Regions from separate parts of the Homo sapiens genome. Here regions 2 and 3 are each linked to region 1. The links are contacts of gene promoters, found by promoter capture Hi-C in human tissues and cell types (Jung and others, 2019). All regions are on one chromosome and are shown on one strand. Each heading gives the region's core, a stretch centred on a gene start or on the middle of the fragment in contact. The rest is flanking DNA. Distances are from core to core; before and after follow the strand shown. Region 1 holds the start of RNF112 (ring finger protein 112). Region 2 overlaps ALDH3A2 (aldehyde dehydrogenase 3 family member A2). Region 3 overlaps EPN2 (epsin 2).

Evidence for each region. The method cuts DNA at HindIII sites, captures the fragments that hold promoters and counts their contacts. A contact is called where the count stands out against the background at its distance.
Region 2: a fragment that was not itself captured here is called in contact with the fragment with the promoter of RNF112 in region 1 in 3 of the 25 tissues and cell types used here (dorsolateral prefrontal cortex, mesenchymal stem cells and mesendoderm cells).
Region 3: a contact is called between a fragment that was not itself captured here and the fragment with the promoter of RNF112 in region 1, in 3 of the 25 tissues and cell types used here (dorsolateral prefrontal cortex, mesenchymal stem cells and spleen).

The regions. Positions count from the first base shown.
Region 1 is chr17:19,409,489-19,412,715 of GRCh38, reverse strand. RNF112 (ring finger protein 112) reads right to left here and starts at 1,484. Exons shown (of 14, transcript NM_007148.5): 1 at 1,254-1,484; 2 at 1,046-1,086; 3 at 1-218. The coding sequence starts at 1,307. The HindIII fragment of the contact is 25,812 bases long and covers 1-3,227 here.
Region 2 is chr17:19,654,661-19,657,887 of GRCh38, reverse strand. ALDH3A2 (aldehyde dehydrogenase 3 family member A2) reads right to left here. Exons shown (of 10, transcript NM_000382.3): 4 at 1,314-1,522; 5 at 26-143. Among named protein-coding and RNA genes, the nearest start is that of ALDH3A2, 7.5 kb to the right of the region's middle. The HindIII fragment of the contact is 6,920 bases long and covers 1-3,227 here.
Region 3 is chr17:19,246,594-19,249,820 of GRCh38, reverse strand. The region is part of intron 1 of EPN2 (epsin 2); the gene reads right to left. Among named protein-coding and RNA genes, the nearest start is that of EPN2, 11 kb to the right of the region's middle. The HindIII fragment of the contact is 3,795 bases long and covers 1-3,227 here.

The sequences.
Region 1 (3,227 bases), core at 235-2,734:
TCTTCTGCTTGCATATCTTCCGGCACTCAGGACAGCAGGGCGGCTCACAGCCCGGGAGACGGTGTGTGCTGAAGCACCGTATGCAGAAGTCGTGGCCACAGTCCAGCGAGATGGGGTCGCGCAACCTCTCCAGGCAGATGGAGCAGGTAGGGAGCTCCCGGGGCGCCATGGGCTGGGGCCCCAGGCCTAGCTCCAACTTGGGGAAAGGTGTATGGGACCTGTGGGGCAAAACAGGCCATTGAAAAGCAGGATGTCTATTGGGGGCAGGGGGTACCGGCCAGGGTTGTGGTGGAAGACTGATGGCTTGGGAGTGGAGGTCCCTTTGTGCCAACCCAATTTCCATCAGTGCCTCCATGGACAGGCGGAGCTGCTCCCAGAGAGGCCAAGCTCTGCCCGTTCCTCACTGACATGTGTCCTAGGACCTGGGGGCCTCAGAGTGGGGGCAGCAGAGCAATGGTGAGAGAGTCTGAGAGGGAGAAAATCTGAGTGGAATGGACTCCACCACATCCCAGCCATGCAAATGCAAGCAAGTTCCTTCCCCTCTCTGGGCCTCAATTTCCTAACTGTCCCAATGGAGAGGATAGCAATACCCCTCATGGGGCCGTTGGGGTGGCCATCCGAGAGGAGGCGTGTGCAGCTGTCTGCACAGTGCCTGGTGCAAATGCTTGGGAAGAGCCTCTCCCGGCGTTCTACAGCGGGGCTCCCTCCATGAGGTGCTGACTTCAGCCAGGCCCCCAGGGATGATACCCTCCACAACCCCATGCTACAGGGACAGTGAGGAGAAGCCATCAGCCTGTGCTGCAGTTGGGCAGATGGCTCTGGATCTTAGAAGATTCCTTCCGCTCTCTGCTCTGAGCTGGCATCTGCCTCCCTGCAGCACCCACCTGCTTCTTCCTGTCCCTCCCTCCACAGCCTGGCGGATCCAGCCTCAGGCGGACAGCCCTCCCGGCTGGGCTGCCGGGCTCTGTGTTCCAGGACCGGCCATTTCAACTGACCTGCCTGGCCTCACTGCACCCATCCCAGCCTGGAAGGCCCTGCTACTTACCAACTGTTGCCGCTGTTTCCCATGAAGCTCTGTTTTCTCTCCTTGGAGAAAAAAAAAAAAAAAAAAGATTTAGAACATAATCCAGACTTCTATCTTCACCCTGGATTTCCAGGGACCCCTCATCCTCCCCACCCCCGGCCCATCCCCCAGCCCAAGGAGGGCCCTTCCCACCCCACTCTCCTTCCCGATCTTAGGACTGAAGACTTGCCCGTTTGCCAAGCCGATGACAAAAGGAAGTGACTGACAAGGCGGGCCTTGGCATGGGAGGCTGGGATGGGGAGAGGGTCCGGATGCAGAGGGGGAGGCCCCGAGACCTTCAACCAGAGGTAAGGATGCCTTTTCTCCCGGAAAGGCTAGCAGGCTGCGGTAGGTAGAAGGTGAGGTCGGGGGATGGTATCCCCGAGGAGCTGACTCCCGGTCAGAGCTGGAAAAGAAATGTGACAGTCAGGAAAGAGGAGGCTGCTGCTGGACTCACCCCAGGGGGAGGAGACACGGCTGCGGGTAGCAGGGCTCCGAGGAGGGAGGGATGGAGCCCGGCTCAGAATCCCTGGCAGAGGCTGGGATGCAGGCAAGCCGAGGTGGTGAGTCGCCATGGAGACAGAAGGGAAAGATAAGGACAGGGAGGGGGAGGGGGACAGAGAGGGAGAAGGCGTGCGGTGCACCCGCAAACATGGAGGCGCCTCCGGCAGAACCATGGGCCAGCACTGCCTCTACTGGGCCAGCTGAGGTCTCCCCAGGGCCACAGGACAGGGTGGGCAAAGAGAAGAGGTGTGAGAAACAGGAGAGGGTAAGACCAGAGCTGACCCAGAGACAAGGAGTTATTCATCCATTCATCCAATGAACAGTTACTGAGTACCTACTATGTACAGAGCCCCCAAATGCAGACCCTACTTCACATGGCCCTGCACATCCTCCTGCTCTCTCTCAGGTTTATGTCATCGACGCCCAACCCAGCTGCAGCCTTCTTCAGCACTCATGGGCCCTCCGTGTCCTCTGGTGTATTTCCCTCCCAATAGCTTTCACTCTGCCTCAAACTTGAGCAGGATGAAATCTATCAAAACTATGAGCCACCTCTGGACCTTCTAATGGCCTCTTGACTGGGCTCCTTGCCTCCCTTCCACTCCCCAGTGCACAGCCAGCATAGGCTCCCCAAGCACAGATGACCTCACACTGCGCAAACACCTTTTGTGTCTCCCTACTACCATCAGATCAAAATCCAAACTCTCCGGCCTGCGGACTGGGCTGAACCTTCCTTCCACCCTTCTCTCGCCCCACTCTTCCCTGCCTCTGCACCCTGGCTTGGCTGCTCTGCTCCTTCTCATCCCTCCTGGGACACCCTCTTAGGCCCAGTGCAGGTGCTGTGGCCTCCCTAGAGCCTCCTTTCCTCACCCCTCCCAACTGGGTGCGGTCTTGTTCTTGGACAGTTGAGGGCTGGGATATGTGATAGGCTTGGCGCAGCCCAGGCTTCAGAGCCAGGCAGATCTGGGCTTGATTCTCGGCTCAGGGGCTCTGGGACTCCACTGCACCTCTCTGTGCTCTGAGGAGCCACCATTACCTATGTAAAGCCACTAGTCCAGGCACGGGAGTCATTCGTACATCCTATGAGCTAGGATGCAGAAGGGTTGGGGTGAGGTGGGATTCAGAACCTAGAAAAGTTCAGCAGAGACCACCTTCAGCAGGTGGAGACACCCCTGAAGCTGGGGCTGGATCTTGTTCATTTTGGTGTCTGGAGGGCCTGAGATTGTGGGGCTGAATCAATCAGATTCAGAGAAGCAGTGCCATAGACTCTGCCTCCTCCTGCCCCAGGTGGGACAAGCCCCTGTGTGTTGGCAGCAAAGCCTCACACTCAGGGGATGAGGAAGCAAGCCTGAGCCGTGCCACAGCTCTGCCTTCAGGGCAGAAGGGAGGGTTTTCTCAACCCCTGTAGCCTTTCATCCTTGCAGGAGAGAAAGCGTGGGCGCTGGACTCAGATTCAAGCTCTAAACCTGCCTCCATCCCAGCATGAAATGCTGGTGAGTCACTGCCCTCTCTGAGCTTCCATTTGCTCATCACCAGGCAAAGATGTGAGGAAGCAGATGGGACAATCAGTCTTCACTTAATGATACTTACTGAGCACCAGGTACTGTGTCTCACACTGCAGTACAGCTGGAAACAAGAGAGACAAAGCTCCATCCTCCCCAAG
Region 2 (3,227 bases), core at 1-2,500, 250 kb before region 1:
GGAATCAGATGTTTTTAATACAAACCTTCACTGTTTCCTTAATCTTCCATACAATTTGATTTTGGAGGGATGCTTCACAGAGAATATAGTCGGGTGCAATGCAGGTTTGGCCACAATTCATGTATTTTCCCCAGGTTATGCGTCTGAGGGGAAAACATCCAGAACAGCTATATAATTCAGTAATTCAGTCAAATATTCATTTGTTACATTGTGTTGTTTGAATGTCTTGCAACTAAAATAGATTCATATATTTATCTGGCAATTTTTATAAAAAAGTTAAAAACTCATTTCTAAATCAGTTGTTTGGAACTTAGAAAGTATTTTCCAAATGAGGTGGAATATTTTACATAGCAGGGAAGTTCTCAGGCCAGCTCACGGCAAACAGTACTTGGTAAACAGTGAAGCCATTGCCTGCTGCAGGAAAAGAGGAGAAACAGCCTCCCAATGTCCTTTCCCCTCTTCCAGTCCAGCCAAAGGAAAGTCCTGGATGACCAGAGTTCGGTACAGACTCTCCTGGTTGTGGCTTTTGGCTCTGCCTGCAAGATGTTCAGGTATAAAGCAGGATGTCAGCCAGCCTCCAAGGCCATCCTCCTCTTTGTGGAGCCCTGCCCCACTTGGGAAGACCTTTCCTATGCATGGGCAGAAACCCATGCCCTAAACATTCACTAACTGAGGGTGTCTGGTTTTGACAAATGGATTTCTACTTAGGAAGCCAACCTGGAACCCTGACCTGGAATCTCTGAAGGGCAGAGAAAGCCACACCACCCAGAGCACAGAGTCAGTTCTATGATTTGGCACTTCTTAGTAGCTAAACCGGATTTAGCAGAGAGAACCTGAAACCTCTTATTTTCTAATTTTCAGATGCAAGATGTTATTCACAGTTAAAAAATGAGGAACACTTGTTTTGCCCACAAAGGATCTCAGTTAAGATATCAGCATAATACCCTCTCAAATGGGCATTTAAAGATTTTATTAGGCACACACAATACTTTGGATTATGTACTTCACAGATCACTGGCCAGAAGAACGTTAAAATTTCTTGCTAGATCTAGCTGTAATCTTGAGAACAGATATAACTTTTTTAAAATTCCTAAGGACAACCACATGATGTCAGGACTTACAGCTCACCATTTTTGACAGTGGCGCCAAGAGACAGTGAAAGACTCCTGTTACTCTTGAGGACATCAACCACCAAAGCTTAATAATGTATCTTGGAGCCATAAGGTATGGGGTTCAAGTACAAAGAGTAACATTGTCAGGAAAAGTCTCCATTGTGCTGGGAAAACCTCAGAAAATCAGAGAGCCAGACTCACCTGCAAACAATGTCCAGGTCACAATCTTTATCAATATAACATGGACTTTTCCCTCCCAGTTCAAGAGTCACAGGGGTCAGATGCTTGGCAGCAGCTTCCATGACAATTTTGCCAACCGCAGTGTTTCCCGTATAGAAAATGTGGTCAAATCGCTGCTTCAGGAGCTCCGTGGTTTCCTCAACACCACCATTAATAACAATATAGAGATCCTCAAAGAAAGAGAAACACAAACTCTTGCACTGCCAAATAAATCCTAACGTCTAACATCAGCAATCTCTTCAACATAAACATGTAACATTCAGTAAAACCCAGAGAGTGTCAAGACCAGTCCCTGTGAGGGATGGGAGAGGGAACTGACCAAGGACAAGAGGAGAACACACAGTCCGATGGCATCTGGGAAGCATGAACCCACATAGAACTAATCTGGAGACTCCAGTGTTTTTTTACATGAGCTCAGCAACAAAGACACTAAGGAGAACAAATGGTTGAATTTGACCAGGGAAAATGCATGAGACGCGGGTGTGTGCAGAAGTGCCTCTGGTGAAGAGTGGCTCCCACAGGACAGGTCATGCATGTCTTAGTCTGAATGTTCTCTGTCTCACAACACAGAGTGGGCTTAGCCCACGCTATTCTGAATGAATGGTATATCCGGCACAGTAGCTGAGAGCGCTTGCTTTTGAAGTGTATCTGGTTTGAATCTGGGCTCTGCCACTCACTAGCTTATGCAACCTTAGGCAAGCTACTGAACATCTCTGAGCCTCAATTTCCTCATCTGTTACTGGGAGAATTCACGTAGCTTCTGTGGACTGAGCCCATCTATGCATTGTGCTATCATTACCAGCTATTCTAAGAGAGAACATCTTGGACAATAACAGCATCAAAAGTAAGAGAACAGATGGCAAGCAAGGAAGACAGAGAGGTATTCAAGACTCCAAGGTGGAAGTGTGAAGTAAAAGCTGGCTTGTGGATCTCATGTTTCCACTTGAAGGCGAATTAATTTCATTCACTTCATGGTTCAGCTGCCCAACAAATGTTTCAAGCTTTAACTTTTCTATGGCTTAATCTACATAGCATATATTATTGATCCCCTAACACGGTAACTGAAGCTGGTAGAGCATTATTATCCTCCTTATCCGGACAGAGTCAGTTATTGAAGAATTTACCCCTGGTCAGGGGCAAAGCGGTACCTTCAACCTCTATCTTCTGGTTCTACGTCCTATTCAATCCTTGACATCTCACTGTCTTCCATTTCATCTTTCTTGATTGGATCATCACAGCTATTAGAACAAAATGGCTCTAACAAAGAGAAAAATATCATTCCAAGAACCAGAACTGGCCTCAATCCATCACAAGTTGATGTACAGAATACAGGTAAGATATTTTTAAGCTGTATTTCGCTTAAAGCTAAATGAAGACTCCTCCCTGTAGCAACTGCATGTAGAACTCAGCAGTGCCAATTTCTTCGCGGCATCATAACTTCCTCCCCAGGAAGGCATAAGAACCTCTGACTCAGACAGATGAACTACCCGCAGTTGGGCAGATCATTTTCTTTATTCAGTTCTTGATATTCTTAAATGCCAGCATGTTAAGTCAGTGTGAGGATCTGCCCTCTAGTTCAGGAGGGCACTTTTTGTGTATGTGTGGCATGTTTTCATGCCACAGACATGTCTTTTTTGAAAGCAGAAGTACTCTTATAGGCTGGGTGAGAGGTGAGAGCGTGCGGGCAACCCTTGCTCGCTCTCAGCACCTCCTTGGCCTTGGCACCCACTCTCGCCACGCTTGAGGAGCCCTTCAGCCCACAGCTGCACTGTGGGAGCCCCTCTCTGGGCTGGCCAAGGCTGGAGCCGGCTCCTTCTGCTTGTGGGAAGGTGTGGAGGGAGAGGCGCAGGCAGGAACCGGGGCTGCGCGTGGCGC
Region 3 (3,227 bases), core at 382-2,881, 160 kb after region 1:
CAGCCCATTAAGACCTGTGTCGGACTTCCCGCCTATACAACTGCATTGTTTTAAGCCACTGCATTTGTGGCAATTTGTCACAGCAGCCATAGGAAACTGACAGAGCAACCAATTTCAATGTTTAGAAAGAGGCACAAACAAAACACATCTGTGAGCTCAATCCACCTAAGGACCACTTTTCTAGTCCAGACTGGGCAGAGTCAAGGGCAAGGACTATTTCCTGGGTGCCCAGCACGGAGCCTAGCACACAGCAGCTCTCTGACATTCACCCCAAGTTAACGCAAGGTCCCTTACCTTTACCACATGGTCATAAAATTATCCAGGGATTTCTGGAAAATAGAGCTGCTTAACTGAAAGGAGTTCTATTCCCAAGAGACTGTTTAATCACATAGACATTACCCAGAGGCCTTGGGAAACTGGCCTGGAGTAGAGGAGGGAACATCCATCTCACTGCAAACAGAAAAAAGTGAGGGCTCTTCAGGTCCTCTGGAAGAAACCTCCAACCTCTCCCTCCCAGCCACCCTCAGGGTGCCAGCTTGCTCACTGCAGCTCCAGATAACTTCGGTTGTTCTTCAACAGCAGAGGAACACTTCTCAAGTGGGCTCTTTTTAGCTCCCCACTTTCACCAGCACAGAGATGCTCTGATTAGAGGTGGGGTGGAAGGCCCACAGTCCTGCCCACTCACCGCCAAAAGGCTACGTGAAAACCACAGCCCATGAGTCAAACCTCACCAAGCTCGCCTGTCCTGCCTGGAGAGTCTGGTCAGCAGGCAGCTGGGCCTCTGCCACATGTCCAGCTCTTCCTCCTCTGCGCCCTCCTTGCTCAGCTCAGGCCTCTGCATAATGCAGCTCCCTCGGCCAGGGATCCTCTCATCTCTGTCCCTGAGAACTCCCACTTTTCCTTCAAGACTCGACTCACATACTATTTCCTCGAAGCCTTCTCTGGTTCCCAGGTTCCATTCTAGTGTCTGACACCACTTTCTAAACTTCCCTCCCCCAGCTATCTCCCAAAGCTAATATTACTTGTTACTGAGGCAAGAGCCACCATCTGCAGACCAAAAACTATTTTGAAATGTAAGAGGAACTTAAATTTTATTCACTCAGGCGTTCCCAGCCAACAGCACATAATACATATGTGCTCAATAAGCATTAAGTAAAGAATAAATGAAGTGGACTATAAACTCATTTTTTGACTGAAATACCATATATTACAATGACACTGTGACATGCATTAACTGTACCATGTAAAATCCCACTTCTAGACTTTGACTAATAAACTGAATCTATCTAAATTAGTAACTCCACATTACAACTATCTTTAATAAAATTAAAGAAATGTAATTTAAAATTTTACATGTACCATCTGCTGCAGTCATTACAATTTAGGGTGTGGGGAGGAACTTGGCTAGCAAGCTTGAGAGAACAGATAAGAACCTGCTGTGCCTGCTCTGTGGCTAAAATGCAGGTTGAAAGGAGGCTTGCCAAATAGGTGGATCACAGTCTCTTCTGCCCATCCCTTGTTTAAACTTTCTACTAAGCTGTCCTTCTTTATTTACCAAGGTAGCTTAGAGGCGTATTTCAGCCAGGGTGATCATTTCTGCCAGTTCCTCTCCAGCCCTGATTCCACCAGCCAATCCACAGTCATTCTACAATAGCTCAGGAACCCAGTCCCCGCACCACATTACTTCAAAGGCTTCTTCTGGCTTCAATTTTCCCCTTCCAATCCCTGACACTCCCAGAGGCTCCTCCAAGCACACAGCTCAGCTTCTCAACCCACACAGACTATGAGAATTAACTGGGGGCACTTCTAAAAATTACTGGCTCCCCCTTGATTGGTCTGGGGTAGGGCCCCATCATGGGCATTTTTCTAGCTTTCCAGGCCACATGATTTGCAGGCTCCCAGGGAGTCAAATCCAAACTTCCCAGCCAGCACTGAGGCCCCCTTTACTCCCTAAACACAACTCAACTCTGGCTTCTCTTCATTCTCCATCTCTAGAACTGCTATCTAGCCAGTCTCAGGAAGCCAGTCTGGGCCAGGCCCCCACCCACAGAGATTACTCCGCAGGGCCCCCTTCTCAAACACTTGAGGTGGCACCCACTCAAGACCTACCCTGCTCCCTACTACCCAGAAAACCAAACCCCAAGGCTGCTGTCTCATCAGAGCCAGTGGCCATCTGGCCACCTGGGAGCTCACTGCTCCCAGCAGGCATCCACCCGTCACCAGCTGCAGGAGCCAGCACACACTCAAGCACCTACCCCATCCCATCTCAAGCTTTAACTCCTGCTGTTCCTGAGATCCGAAATACCTTCCCATCTGCCTTCCACTTAGGGATACTGTTTCTTGTTCTTCAAGGTCCAGCTCAAATCCTACCTTCTCCTGATAGCTTCCCTGACTTCTAAATTTTTTCTCCATTCTTGACCCCCTGACAAAGAATCAAAATCATGGCTCAACAAACTGCTAGCTTCTGTCTCACAAATAGTAACTTTGTCTTCTCAATTAGATTAAGTTCTTGGTGGCATTTCATTTATAACCATTATTTGCCTCTAGATCACGTGTTCCATATTTTTCAGGTTGACACTGGCCTCAGTCATGAAACTGTCCTTGAAATGCCCATACTTCTACATCTCCCAGCTGCTTCTCATAAAGTGACATACAAATTCTTTCTCCAATCAGATGTTTCCCAAATTTTGTCATCCATAGTATAGTCATTATATCCCAGGACAGCTCTGAGTATCAAAAAGGCACACAGGGGGCTGGGCGCAGTGGCTCACGCCTGTAATCCCAGTACTTTGGGAAGCTGAGGTGGGCAGATCACGAGGTCAGGAGATCAAGACCATCCTGGCTAACACGGTGAAACCCCCTCTCTACCATAAATACAAAAAGAAATCAGCCAGGCGTGGTGGCGGGCGCCTGTAGTCCCAGCTACTTGGGAGGCTGAGACAGGAGAATGGCGTGAACCCGGGGGCGGAGCCTGCAGTGAGCTGAGATCGCGCCACTGCACTCCAGCCTGGGTGACAGAGCGAGACTCCGCTTCAAAAAAAAAAAAAAAAAAAGGCACACAGGGAGGACTTGCTTTCAGGGGGGAAAAAAAAAACAAAACAAAACAACTGCGTCCCTTTATTGCTAGGATATTTTTTTGGGGGGGGCGGAAGGGGCCTTTTAATACAACTTTTTGCTCACATTGATTTATTCACCTCAGAGTCTTAAAGAGTTCACAAAACAAACTC